Regions from separate parts of the Homo sapiens genome. Here region 1 is linked to region 2. The links are contacts of gene promoters, found by promoter capture Hi-C in blood cells and fetal thymus (Javierre and others, 2016). All regions are on one chromosome and are shown on one strand. Each heading gives the region's core, a stretch centred on a gene start or on the middle of the fragment in contact. The rest is flanking DNA. Distances are from core to core; before and after follow the strand shown.

Evidence for each region. Contacts are between HindIII fragments. The CHiCAGO score rates a contact against its expected background, and 5 or more counts as called.
Region 1: a contact is called between a fragment that was not itself captured here and the fragment with the promoter of NIFK in region 2, in 2 of 17 cell types (total CD8 T cells and fetal thymus). The highest score is 8.6, in total CD8 T cells.

What each region holds. Positions count from the first base shown.
Region 1 is chr2:120,248,102-120,255,355 of GRCh38, forward strand. It overlaps RALB (RAS like proto-oncogene B), which reads left to right and starts at 4,751. Exons shown (of 5, transcript NM_002881.3): 1 at 4,751-4,879. RefSeq lists a silencer at 4,444-5,033 and an enhancer at 5,534-5,803. The HindIII fragment of the contact is 1,925 bases long and covers 1,817-3,741 here.
Region 2 is chr2:121,733,218-121,739,771 of GRCh38, forward strand. It overlaps NIFK (nucleolar protein interacting with the FHA domain of MKI67), which reads right to left and starts at 3,658. Exons shown (of 7, transcript NM_032390.5): 1 at 3,529-3,658; 2 at 2,396-2,533. The coding sequence starts at 3,633. RefSeq lists an enhancer at 3,545-3,594 and a silencer at 3,695-4,144. The HindIII fragment of the contact is 3,379 bases long and covers 3,358-6,554 here.

The DNA of each region.
Region 1 (7,254 bases), core at 1,529-4,028, 1.5 Mb before region 2:
TCCTCTTGCTGTGGCTGCTTGGAATAGTGTCTGTCCAGAATCATCAGCAGGTGAGAATGGCTGTTCCCCCATCTGTAGATTGGCAGCCTTTTTTCTTTTCTAATTGATGCGGTTACCAAAGATCAAATGCCCCCAGGGATGCCCACAGAAGCTTGCCGGGCCTCTTTCTAATAATACGGTCTATGAATACACTCCTGCCAGCTCATGGAAGCAAGTCTCCACTGCTGGCTGATGTTCTGGGAAATCCATACCCTCCCCCATTTCCTTCCTGGCTTTTGAGTACCCATGTCCCTGGTGTCAAAGCACCTCTAGGGATCTAAACTTCAAACCTTGCCTCTGGTTCCTCTGGGGTTTGGCAGGAAGACTGTTCTGTTTGGTCTTCAGCTCTCTTCAGCTCTCTTGCTCCCTTCCTCCTGCAATCTCTCCAAATCTCTGATCTGAGAGCTGATTACCCTGTCTAGGACCCCACTGTGCGTGGACCCCCGGAACAGCATCCTAACCTCGGTTCCACATCCAACCCTCACAGCCCAATCTCCCCACCACAGCCAGAGTAATGTTTTTTCTTTTTTCTGACAGCTTCTTGCTGTGTCGTCCAGGCTAGGGTGCAGTGGCACGATCTCAGCTCATTGCAACCTCTGCCTCCTGGGCTCAGCCTCCGCCTCCTGGACTCACTCAATCTCCTACCTCAGCCTCCCTGGTAGCTGGCACCAGAGGTGTGCACCACTGTCTGGCTAATTTTTTTATTTTTTATAGAAATGGGGTCTCGCCATGTTGCCCAGGCTGTTCTTGAACTCCTGACCCCAGGAGATTCACCCTCCTTGGCCTCTCAAAGTGCTGGGATTATAGGCATGAGTTACCATGCCTGACCCAGAGTAATCTTTTTAAAACCAAAATCAAAGCATGTCAGCCTCCTGTTTGAACCTTGTGTTAGTCTTTTTTTTTTTTTTTTTTAAGACGGAGTCTTGCTCTGTTGCCCAGGCTGGAGTGCAGTGGCATGATCTTGGCTCACTGCAACTTCTGCCTCCTGGGTTCAAGCAACTCTCTTCTCAGCCTCCCGAGTAGCTGGGATTACAGGCATCTGCCACCACGCCTGGCTAATTTTTTTGTATTTTTAGTAGAGATGGGGTTTCACCATGTTGGCCAGGCTGGTCTCAAACTCCTGACCTCATGATCCACCCACCTTCACCTCCTAAAGTGCTGGAATTACAGGCGTGAGCCACCGCGCCCGTCCGTGTTAGTCCATTTTGTGTTGCTATAAAGAAATACCTGAGACTGGGTAATTGATAAAGAAAAGAGGCTTAATTATTAATTAGCTCATGTTTCTGTAGGCTGTACAGGAGGCATAGCACTGGCATCTGTTCCTGGGGAGGCTTCAGGAAGCTTCCAGTCATGGCGGAAGGCATAGTGGGAGCAGGTGCATCTCATACTGAGAGCGGGGATAAGAATAGGCGGGGAGGTGCCACGCACTCTTAAACAACCAGACCTTGTGTGAACTCAGAGCAAGAACTCACTCATTGCCAAGGAGTAGCACTAAGCCATTCATGAGGGATCTGTCCCTATGATCAAAACAGCCCCCCACCAGGCCCCGCCTCCAACAGTGGGGATTACATTTCAACATGAGATTTGGAGGGGACACACATCCAAACCATATCAAACCTCTTCAGCAGTTTCTACCGCACTAGGAGTAAATTTCAAACTCCTCTGTATAACCGAGAAGCCCCTGCATCATCTGGCTCTTGCCTCCCCTTCCAGCCCTGTGTGACTCACTTTCCCCTGCTCACCATTCCAGGCCTCCTGGCCATTCTCAGCAGTACCAAGCTTTCTTCTGCCTCAGGACTTTGCACAGGCTTATGCCTCTGCCTGAAATACTCTCCTGTCCTTCCTCCTACCCCCATCTTTTGCTAAGATTGATTTTTCTCATCCTTGAGGTCCTAGCTTAAATGTCACTTCCCAAGAGAGATCTTTTTTGACCACCCAGTCTAAAATAATTTGTAATGACATAATTTGTAATTTTTGGGGTGCTTGTCTGTTTACTGGCCTCTTCTCTGTCCTTTTGTGTGAGTTGTTCACCTTGCATCCGTCAGAGCAGGCTAAGCTATGTGCAGTAACAAACAACTCCCACATCGTAGTGTCTTCAAACCATAAGGGCTTATTTCTCAGTCATTCTAAATGTCCATCACAGGTTGGTAGGGGGCCTGTGCTCATTGTAGAAACCCTGGCTGATGGAGCAGTCACATTTCCTAACATTCTCAGTAGCCATACCAAGGACAAGAGAGCTCTGGAGGGTCTTATATTGGCAATTAATTTCTCCAGCCTAGAAATGATTATGTGTCATTTCTGCTCACAAGTGATCGGTTAGAGCTAGTCACATGGCTCCACCCAACTACAGGGCTAGGAAGTTTCCAGTGCTCACAAGAGAGGAGTAGAAATGTTTGTCAGACAGCACTAAAGACTCCCACAGTAATCAATAAATACTTTAGAAGGATGGAGTGTCTAGAATGCTCTTTCCATGGCAGCAGTCGTTTACAGCATCCTTAAGGAGTCCTGCTGGGGATCTTGTATTTCTGCTGCTCAAGCCCCTGGCTCTGCTGGGAGTCAGAGTTCTGGTAGGGAAACTCAGCAGACAAGAGGTCCCCTGAGACCTGGAATGAGCCACCTTAGAGGCAGCTGAGGCTGGTGGCCTCTTGGTTCCCTTCTCCCGTTGGGACACGTTTCCCCTATTGGTGTCCTGTGTGAGACAGCCCCGCCAAAAGGGTCCTGCCACTCCTCTCTGAATATACTGCACAGCTCAGGGTCTGGCATGTCCAGGATCTGAATAGATGATCCTGCTGGAGGAGTCCCAGTAGGACCCCTCCGAGTTCTAGGCAGGCAGAGAATGAAAGCAGCATTTCTCAGAAAGCCCTGTGCATCCTGTTACCAATGCAAAGGAATGGCACTTCAGCACCCCAGAAAAGGTGGGGAAACCTCCTGCATCTGCTGTGGGTCCTAGGGGATGGGGGGCAGGTGGGAACAGTAGAATCCTGGCCTGTGGCCTGATTTCTGACCCTGTTCCCTCAACTATCATACCCTTTTCACTTGGGTAGGCTGCTGCAGCTGCTCTCCTCTCTATACTTGCATTTGACAAAGGGTACCACCACAGCAGGCCCTTTCCACCAGGCTGCACGCGGTCACACTTGATACAGATGGGCTTTGGGAGATAAGGCTGTACCAGATTGGTGATCACACACTTGACTGTACATCGTGGCCTCTGGTGGCAATCACTAATGTAAGCTCACATTCCTGAGGCACTCACCAAGTTCCTAGCACTGTACTGAGAGCTCTATGTGGACTTGCATGTACATCTTCTTACCTATAGCATGGAGGTGCTGCTATTGGGCAGCTGGTGAAACTAAAGCCCACAGAAGTAGTTTCCTAATTAAGTAACTGCTAGTCACAAGGTAGAGCCCTCCTTTAATCCTATGCTTCCAGACTCCAAACCTGTGCACTTAACTGTTACTCCGTAAGAAAAGGTTTGGGTCTGATTCCTCTTCTAGGTTATAAATACTAGGGAGCTTCCTCTTTGAGAAGCCTCCTACCCCATCTCCTTACTGTACCTAGCAAAGTGTCTGTCATACGATTAGCACTCAATAAAAGTTTTAAATGTGAATGAGAATGGTAAAAACAGAATACTTAGTAGGCTAACACTAGGATATTCTTCTGATTGCACTTTTTTGTTAAGTTGGTCACTTAAGACTAAGGTAAAGCTTCTGTGCTTTTTGATATAGATGCTGATGGAGGGACTGGATCTGGTAGATACATAGCAATCTAATCATGGCCCAAAGCCTCCAATATAGTATACACATGCATCCTAACTTACAATGATCAACAATGAAAGAATTAATTACACTGTGCTAGCAGCCATGGATATCACATTGCATAAGAGATAGTTCCCTCCCTTAGAGATAAGAGGCAGACGTTTAAACTGTCAGTTGCGATGGCTTGTGACTCTCATGAGGTCTGCGTAGGGGTCAGCACGGTCACAAAACCTGTGGAGGAGGAGGTGGTTAGGAAGGAAAATCCACCGAGATGAAGCTGTACTGGATACAAAATCACACGTTCCTGGGCTTTGGCAGGGAGCTTGCCCACTGCACTTCCTGCCTCGAGGCTATGGCTGGGGTGGGATTCTGGCCCTTGTAGGCGGCCTGGGTCCAGTCTCCGCCATGCACTCACTAACTCCATTACTGCTAATGGGATGTCATCAGCGAAGCGAGTGGTGGCGGCAGGTGGAGTCCCGCCCCAAGACCCCCGGGCGGCATCCCCATCGCCGCGCTCCAGCACTCTTCGCCACCTCGTAATTTTCTTCTGTTTCTGTATGATCAGGTCTGTCCTTCGCTTTTGCTTTCCATTACTTCGTCCTAGCCCTGGCCTGAATCCCACAACTGGCGCCCCACCTTGTGCACCCGCACCCGCCCTCAATACCGGCGGGCAGCTCCTCCACTGCCGCAGGGTTACCAGCTGCGTGTCCGAGGGGCAGAGAGAGAAACAGAGGGGGACGGGGCAGGCGCGCTGGGCCCGCCCCCCCGTGCCTGGGGCAGCTTCTCATTGGTGAAACCTCCTCCCCGGCCGCCCGCTGCTTGGAAAATCAGCCTCGGATTGGCTGACAGCCCCCCGACGGGCGTGGCTTCCGAGGAGAGGGCAAGAACGGAAGCGAGGGCGCGCTCTCGAGAGGAGGGGTTGCCTAGGCGACGCCGGAGGCGCGCTCGGGGGGTGGGAAAGCGAGCCCGGCAGCTCAATGACAAATCGGTGGAGGACGGCTGGGGTCCGGCCCCGGGAGGGGGCGGGGCGCGTTTAAGAGCTGCGGGCCGGGTGCGGACGGCGGAGGCGGCGGGACTGGTCCCTGGTAAGGGCGCGGCGCCCGCGGGCCCCGGGCGGGGTGGGGCGCGGGCTGGGGAGTGGGGTACGCCGCACGCCCGCAGCCTCTTGCTCCCTCCGTGCCGGGCTGTGGCCGGGCGGCGGCAGGACATGTCGCGCCCCGAGGCCGGCGGAGGGCGACGCCCCGGCAGCGGCCCCGCTCCGCTCCGGGAGGACTCCCTGGGGGAGTCTCGGCTTCCTGGGCTGCCTGGGGCTGAGGAAGTGGGGGCGGCCTCCGCCTCTCCCTTGTAGCCGCGGTTCCTTCCCTATCCCGCAGATGGCTCTGCTTCCACTTCCTGCCGCGGGCCTCCCGCTCGGGACCGTCCACTTCCTCAGTCCTCCGGCCGCGGCTTGGGCAGGGTCAGGGCTGGGAAGTGTTGCAAAAACTTAACTGCCCTCGGAACTTGCACGCGCCGTGAACTGGGCGGTGTTCCTAAAGGGCTTCGGTTTGCTGGTTTTGTTTTGGTCCTGTCTTGCAAATGAGCATAAAGTTGTTTCTCCCCCAGCCTCCTCCCCTTTCCTTTCTGATAGGGGCCAGCGGCGAAGGGGCTTCTAAGGGGAAGCGCCTGGACTGGGCATCGCCGTCCCGGTTCTTGCCGCCTGTGGGAGTGTGAGGTTAACCGTGCTCGGTGCAGGGTTGCGGGGCGCGGAGCTTGCTGCGTCCACACTGCTTGTGTGAGCAGTGTCCTCTCTGTGCTCATTTCCAACGAGAAACGTTGGAACTTTGGTGTTCTTATCAGGTGAGTCTTCGGGAGAGAAGTGCTTGTGCCTGGCGGACTGAATGAATTGGCCGTGGAAGAGACTTGGCTGATTGCTCATCTGGGTTACCTGTGACTCATCTTCAGCCCTTGTAGAACAGTGCACTTTCTGCTCTGTCCTGGTTTCCTAACCTCATTTCTTCTGAAGTTTTGGGGATGGATGGTGGGCATGGAGTATCAGAGGGGATAGTGAATCTTTTAGAGGTGTCAATGACTGATGTTCCAAGCAGAGCCATAAGATTGTTGGATGTCAAAGCTCAGAACCGGTCAAGGCTCAGAATGCTCCTTAAACCTGGAGCAATAGAAGCACAGTATCGAAGTTCCCAGAAATGGGCCGACCATGAAAGGTAGCACTGCATATTGGGAAAAACAGGAGGGGTGAGTTTGAAGACCTGGGTTTGATGCAGGTTCTGAGAGTTTACCGGTGTTGTGATGTGGAGCACGATCTTTCCCCCTCTGAGCTCCAGAGTCAGCAACTGTAGAAGGGTGATGATAGTTATCCTAATTGTTAGGATTAAACGAAATAGGAGCGGGGGAGAAGAAGGCCAGGGAGACATATCCTTTGTGCGTGGCTTTAGTTGTCAGCCGGTCTGCTTTATTCTGACCACATCTGGGGCTTTCCTTCCTTGCCCATTCACATTGCTTCCCATTGGAAACAGCACTCTTATCGGAGATCTCAGCCAGATTTCCCTCTGCCCGAGGAATAGAACATTTTCCCAGGATTGTGTGTGGAAAATAGTGTAAGTTATTAGATATCTTTTGGGAACTTGGGACCTAGACCATAAGGATAAACAGGATTTAGAGTCTTCCACGGCATATGAAGAGATTTTGGTAGAAGATGAGGGTAGAAAAGTTCTAAATTCTTGCCTTGACTGAAGATGGCTTGAGATTCCATGAAAAATTTTAAGCCTGAGAATTGAGATAATCCTTTTTTTGTTTGTTTTTGGGGGCAGAGTCTTGCGCTATTTCCCAGGCTGGAGTGGAGTGGTGTGATCACCGCTCACTGCAGCCCCCACCTCCCAGGCTCAGGTGAGTCTCCCACCTCAGCCTCCCGAGTAGCTTGGTACAGTCTTGCACCACCATGCCAAGCTAATTTTTGTATTTTTTGTAGAGATGGGGTTTCACCATGTTGCCCAGGCTGGTCTCGAACTGCTGGGCTCAAGCCATCCTACCACCTTGGCCTCTCAAAGTGCTGGGGATCACAGGTGTGAGCCACCCCGTCTGGCAGGGATAATTCTTTCTTCCAAATCACGTAATCCTACTATGCCTCTTTGCATTTAGTTGCTAAATTCTTACCCCCCTCATGTAACTTATGGAAGTTAGAAACATCATTAGAGACCTTTCTTGAAAGCTAAATTTGGAGACAATGTAAGACTAGAGTGCGAAGAGATCTAGGTGAACTCTGTAGTTTTCCAGTGTAACTTGTCTCCAGATGGTATACAGGAGTCCCACTTTTCCTTGGCTCCAGTTACTGCTAAACAGCCCCTGCTCTAGACATGCAAGACGCTTGGTTTTTTTTTCGTTTTGTTTTTTTAAATGAATGTATGTTCTGAATGTTATCGCAAAGAGAGCCGAGCACAGAGGAAAAGGAACTCTTCCTTCATCA
Region 2 (6,554 bases), core at 2,408-4,907:
AAAATACAAAAATTAGGCCGGGCACAGTGGCTCACACCTGTAATCCCCACACTTTGGGAGGCCGAGGCAGGTGGATCACCTGAGATTGGGAGCTCAAAATCATCCTGACCAATATGGTGAAACCCCATCTCTACTAAAAATACAAAAATTAGCTGGGTGTGGTGGTGCACGCCTATAATCCCAGCTATTCAGGAGGCTGAGGCAGGAGAATCACTTGAATCCGAGAGGCTGAGGGTGCAGTGAGCCAAGACTGTGCCACTGCACTCCAGCCTGGGCAACAGAGTGAGACTCCATTTAAAAAAAAAAAAAAAATTAGCCAGGCATGGTGGCAGGCACCTATAATCCCAGCTACTCGGGAGGCTGGGGCAGGAGAATCACTTGAATCCGGGAGGCGGACATCGCAGTCAGCTGAGGAACTGTGCCACTGCACTCCAGCCCGGGCGACAGAGTGAGACTCCGTCGCAAACAAAACAAAACCAAAACAAAACAAAAAAAAAATGAATAGAATGAAATAGAAAATCAGCGCATCACACAAAACAAGTTTAAATATTGTCTCATTTGGCTTTTATTTCAGTTATGCTTACATGCATATGTATGTGTGCTGGTTTGTGCTGTAAAACTTTTTTTAAAACCCTCATCTTCTTTGTGATGGTAAAAACTTACCTCTTATTGTGAGCCAAAGTCTGCAAAATACTCTTCTAGAAAATTCTGCCTATACCTGTACAAAGATTGTTCCTAGCAGCTTAATCTAAAGAGTTAAAAATATTAAAAAACCTAATGTTCGGGCTGGGCACAGTGGCTCGCTCATGCTTGTAATCCCAGTACCTTGGGAGGCCGAGGTGGGCGGATCATCTGAGGTCAGGAGTTTGAGACCAGCCTGGCCAAAACAGTGTTTAGTAGAAACACTGTTTCTACTAAAAATACAAAAATTAGCCAGGTGCAGTGGCCGGTACCTGTAATCCCAGCCACTCAGGAGGGTGAGGAAAGAGAATCACTTGAATCTGGGAGGCAGAGGTTGCAGTGAGCCGAGATCGCCCCCCAAAACAAAACCTAATGTTCAATAGGAGGGTGGATAAACTTTAGTAACCTAAGTAATGAGCAATGATGATAACAAAGGCAATAGAGTTACATGGATAAAGCTCAGATTATTGAATACAAAAATTCAGCTGAAGAATGATAGAGTAATATAATTTTAAAATAATACCATATGTACATTTATATATGTACACATATGTATTCTAGTACATATATATATAGTAAAAACTTATATATAGCAATGAAAACTGAATTTGTGGCCGGGCGCACTGGCTCACGCCTGTAATCTCAGCACTTTGGGAGGCCGAGGCGGGAGGATCACAAGGTCAGGAGTTCGAGACCAGCCTGGCCAACATAGTGAAACCCCGTCTCTAGTAAAACACACAAAAAATTAGCCAGGCATGGTGGCAGGCGCCTGTAATCCCAGCTACTTGGGAAGGTGACGCAAGGAGAATTGCTTGAACCCGGGAAGCGGAGGTTGCAGTGAGCTGAGATTGTACCACTGCACTCCAGCCCGGGCGACAGTGCAAGCCTCAGTCTCAAAAAAAAGAAAACTGAATTTGTGAATTTAATTCCCTAATTAAAGAAGTTGAAGAGCACTGGGAAGGGTACAAAAGGGACCTCAATTCTACCTACAATCTATCTTTACGACAACTAACAGATGATGGATGTGCACCCTATCCCCCACATGCTAAATCAAATAGGTGTCTATGGCTACAACCAATTAAAGTTTATGTGCGGGGAAAGAAAAGAAAGTGGGTCACTCCTCCACTATTGAAACAAGCTATGTAAAGCGTTTTCTCATTAGAAGGCAGGTATGACACAAATAGTAATTATACTTATATAGTGTTTATTGTGTACCAAGCAATCCTCTAAAGACTTTATATTTAACCTTTGACTAAATACTCCCAGGAAGTTTTACTTATATTTAACAGATCACAACACTGAAACATGGTAAGGTCATATCACTCTAACTAGTAAGGTGTAGAGCCTGACCCCAAACCTCAGCAGTCCAACTCCAGAGTCCTCACCTTTAACTATTCACTATATAAACCTTTGCTATTATAAGGATGCTTGTACCAAAGGCTAACACAAGAAAATGTATAAACCTGGGCCTCATACTAAAGCTCATTTACCAGGACTGTCAATTTAATGTAAGGATTTGGAGAAATGTAAAAAACAAACTTTTACAATAATACTGATTTTGCTCCTGTAGCTGTTTCAGATTCTAAACCTCCTCCACTCTCCTTTTTGGAATGAAATCTGATAAGCAATAATGTATGCGTGAACGTGCTCTTTAATGTCAAGGATAATACACATTTGAAAAACAAAACATTAAATCCAACTGCAAAAATCTTACCCTTTTACTTCTGGACAGCCTGAACCGTGTCACAGTGCCAAACTGGGAGAAATATGAAAAGATCTGGGTTTCGTCAAGTAGGTTAGGTAGGTGGCGCACATAGACTACTCCAGGAGTAAGTTGTTCTTGTTTTTTTCGCTAAAGACGTAAAGACCAGGTAAATTAAATATATAAATAAGAAAATCACATTGTAACAAAACCCCTAGCCCTCGGCCCAAGAACCTATTCTGCATTTCCACTTACCACAGTAGTAATTAAAGAACTGGCTGTTTAGTGTTTCTCTCCCCACAAAGGCCATGGTCAAGCAGTAGTCAACTATCTTTCCAGCCTGGCATCCCAGCACCCAGTATAATATTAGAGCTCAATAACTATGTCAATCAACGGATAAGCAAGGACATCTTTGAACAAGCCATTTTAGATCTTCTGCCCAGAGAACTCTACATAAACGTAGGCTTCAATTTGGTATGCATATTACTGTTTACTCGCACTTCATCGAAAAATTTTCGATACGCTTGTTAACTCTCACGGTACAGATTAGCCTTTCAACGTCTCAGTCATCATAGCCTTACCTCTGTAACAGGAACTTCTAAGTTTTCCTGTGTATTTTATGCTAAAAACCACAGAAAGTATAAGCGATGTCAGGGGCCCTAGTCAGCAAGTGGAACCTGGCAAATACTCTATTTTAATAACTCCCAGATCACCAACCCGGCATACAAACTTCCCGAATGTGTTAAGTCTGGGGCTCCCATTTTTGGGGGAAACGCGGAAGCGTGACAGCTCTAACCCGGAGATAACCTGTGGTATAGGAGCCTATTCCCTCCAGCTGGTTCTTTCTACTGCTTCTGTCACCCCAATACTTCCCCGTTACCCTCCACATGAAGGCTCCAGGGCCTCAGCGGCCAAACCCCTCCATCATTTACCGAACAGCGTAAACCCTTTCGTCTCGGAAACCGTGGCCTGCAAGCTTAAGAGGTCGGTCCCTGATTCGGTCGAATCCACTTGGGAGACCCTGGAGGTAATGAAGGCGAGCACGAAGGCAAGGGGCGCCCGGGCCGGAAACCGTGCAACCCCAGATACCCTCTAGACCCGGTCCATCGCCCCCGCTCGCAGCCTGGGCCAGGGTGCCTGCTCACCTGGGTTATGCGCTTGCGAACCTGCGCCACCTCCTTTTGAAACTCGACATCTTCCTGCGGATTAAGCGACAGGATTGGCCCAGCCGGGCCAGAAAAAGTCGCCATGCCAAAAGCCGCCGACGCTAACCACGCGGCGCTCCCGGAAACGTCGGGCTCCCAGCTCCCCCGAGGCGGAAGTAGAGGCAGGACAGGGGCGGGGCGAAGCGCTAAGGCGAGGCGAGGCGTGGCGAGGGGCGGGGAGGGCCATGAGTCGGGCGCGGGGTTGGAGCAGGAGTTGCCCGGAGAAGCGGGGGCGGGGCACGGGGTGTGGCGAGGCGCGGGGCGGGGCATAAATTGCGCCAGGGGCGAGGGCGGGGCACGAGGTCGTGCCGAGAGACTGGGAGAGGCGTGAGTCGCGCGGAGGCGCGACATGGGGCGTGACGAGGAGCGGAGGGCGGGGCGTGAGTAGCGCCGAGGCGCGGAGGCGGGGCGCAGGGGCGTGCCGAGGCGCGGCAGCGGGGTCTGGGGCTGGGGCTGGGCCGTGGGGAGCTCCCGCACCCTCGGCTGTCGGGGCGCCGGCTGGCTTCGCTTAAGAGTGCCTGAAACAATTACGTTCACGCCTACTTTCAAAAAAGGTCTAAAATAAATTCCAAAACAGTACCTGTGTCCTTGAGATGCTGCTCTCATTCCTCAATTTGCTTATTATTATTATTATTTTTTTTTGAGACAGAGTTTCGCTTTGGTTGCCCAGGCTGGAGTGCAATGGCGCAATCTCGGCTCACTGCAACTTCCAACTTCCGCCTCCCGGGTTCAAGCGATTCTCCTGCCTCAGTCTTCCGAGTAGCTGATTACAGGCGCCCGCCACCACTCCCAGCTTAATTTGTACGTTACCACTCCCAGCTTAATTTGTATGTTTAGTAGAAACGGGGTTTCACCATGTTGGCCAGGCTGGTCTCGAACTCCTGACCTCAGGTGATCCACCCGCCTCAGCCTCCCAAAGTACTGGGATAACAGGCGTGAGCCACCGCGCCCGGCCCTAATTTGGTTATTCTTTCACTCACTTGTGTGTGAGCTCTCCTGTGTGGCCCCGTCCGTCCGCGGCCCTTGGAGAACTTACAGCCTGAGGGCAGCATGGCTGCTTTAAGAGACCAAAGAGGCTTGTGGGGGAGAGGCACACTGGGTGGCGCCGGAGGGTCCCCCTTAGGAGGTGGCGTTAGCACCGAGGCCTGAAGGCTAAAGAGCGGGGTGTGGAGAACCGAGCGCCTGCCGTCCGCTGGACCGGACAGGCCTGCACAGTGTTCCTAGGTCTAGAAAGAAGGACGCGGCAGTGGGGTTGGAGCCCAGCACAGGAGGGAAGAGCTGCGAGGCGGCAGGCTGGAGCCCCATGACTGTGTGTCAAAGTATGAAACTGGGGTTTTGTAAATGCGAGGGGATGGGCGGGTTTAAAGCGAGGCTGTGGCTGTTTGCATCTTTCTTTTCTTTTTTTTTTTTTGAGACGGAGTCTCGTTCTGTCGTCCAGGCTGGAGTGCAGTGGCGCGATTTTGGCTCACTCACTGCAACCTCCGCCTCCTGGGTTCAAGCAATTCTCCTTCCTCAGCCTCCCGACTAGCTGGGACTACAGGTGCACACCACTACTCCCGGCTAATTTTTGTATTTTTAGTAGAAACGAGGTTTCGCCATTTTGGCCAGGCTGGTCGAGAACCCCTGACCTTAAGTGATCTACCCGCCTCGGCCTCCCAAAGTGCTGGGATTACAGGCGTGAGCCACCGCACCCGGCCTGTTTGTACCTTTCAAATACTATTATACTAGTGAGTAACTGAGTGGAGAGGAAGGGTGGGGAGTGGATTGCCGAGGAAGCAGGGAGGTGAGGCGAGAGCGACAGATCAAGCACAGCTGGTGTCAGGGGATAGCTGCGGCCGTGTTCTGGAAGCCGTGAAGGCGGCCCAGGGTGTGTGTGCCCGAAGAGTGGCCTGTGGGCCTGAGGTGGAGGCCCTGGGAGGGAGTGCCAAGCGAGGCCAGCCCACTTCCTCTGACAGACGTGCCTCCCACGCTCACAGTCTTCGCCTCCTTCACCCCTGCACCCTCCGGCTCAGCGCCACCGTCACCCCCAAGGGGGCATCCCTGACCCTGTAGCAAAGTCAGTTCTTCCAGTTAAGCGCTGTCTTCCCATTGTGTTTTCATGGGTAGGCTGGATTTTCGGGAGTGAGCGAGCAAGAGCAATTTGATTCTTTTTCAGGGCTGCCCCTTTCCATGGGCTTGTTCTTGCTCCCCCCAGGATGAAATCTTGGGGAGAGCTCCGCACTTGTGATTGCTCCTCAGATGTCAGTCAATAGAAGCATGTTCCACGCGTTCAAAATCTAATATCAAATGTCTCCTCTCCCCAGCTCAGTGTCTCTGGCAGAGAAATCCCCAAAGGGGAGCACAGTCCACATCGTCTTTATTCTTGGCTCCACTTTCTCTGTACACCCCAGTTTCTGTTTTTGGGCTTTCCAGGATTAGGACAGGGAAGAGAGGGAGGAGAAAGCAGAAAGGGGCTCCTTGCTGGCAGGTGCCACGTGGCCAGGGAGTTTTAGAGGCTGCAAATGCCAGGTTGCTGGCACCTTGTCTCCAAGCACACTTTTGAGGTGTCCCTCACCTGGCTGCTCATGACTCTACCTGCCTGCCAGCCGAGGTCAGCTCTGTGCCCAGAGGCTCCTCCTGGAAGGGCCTTTCCAAGTGGACTTTATCATCCTGATCCTTTAAGAAGGGCCACATGTTTTGTCTGTCACTGCCATGGGATTGCTGCCAGGCAGGCCTCCTGGCTGGCATCACAGATGTTGGTGTATAAACCAGGTACAATCCCTGTATCCCCCAAATTCCAGAGGATGTAGATAAGTTCACTGGTTCCCTGAAGGTACCATCCGTGTCCTCGTGTGTGTGTGCGTGTGTGTGTGTGTGTGTGTGTGTGAACACTCCCCTCCTTCCTGAAGGTGGAATCTTGACATGTCTCATAGCTACTTAGGGGAGATGAGGATACAGGAAGGAATGACGGCAAGCACTTCTCTATG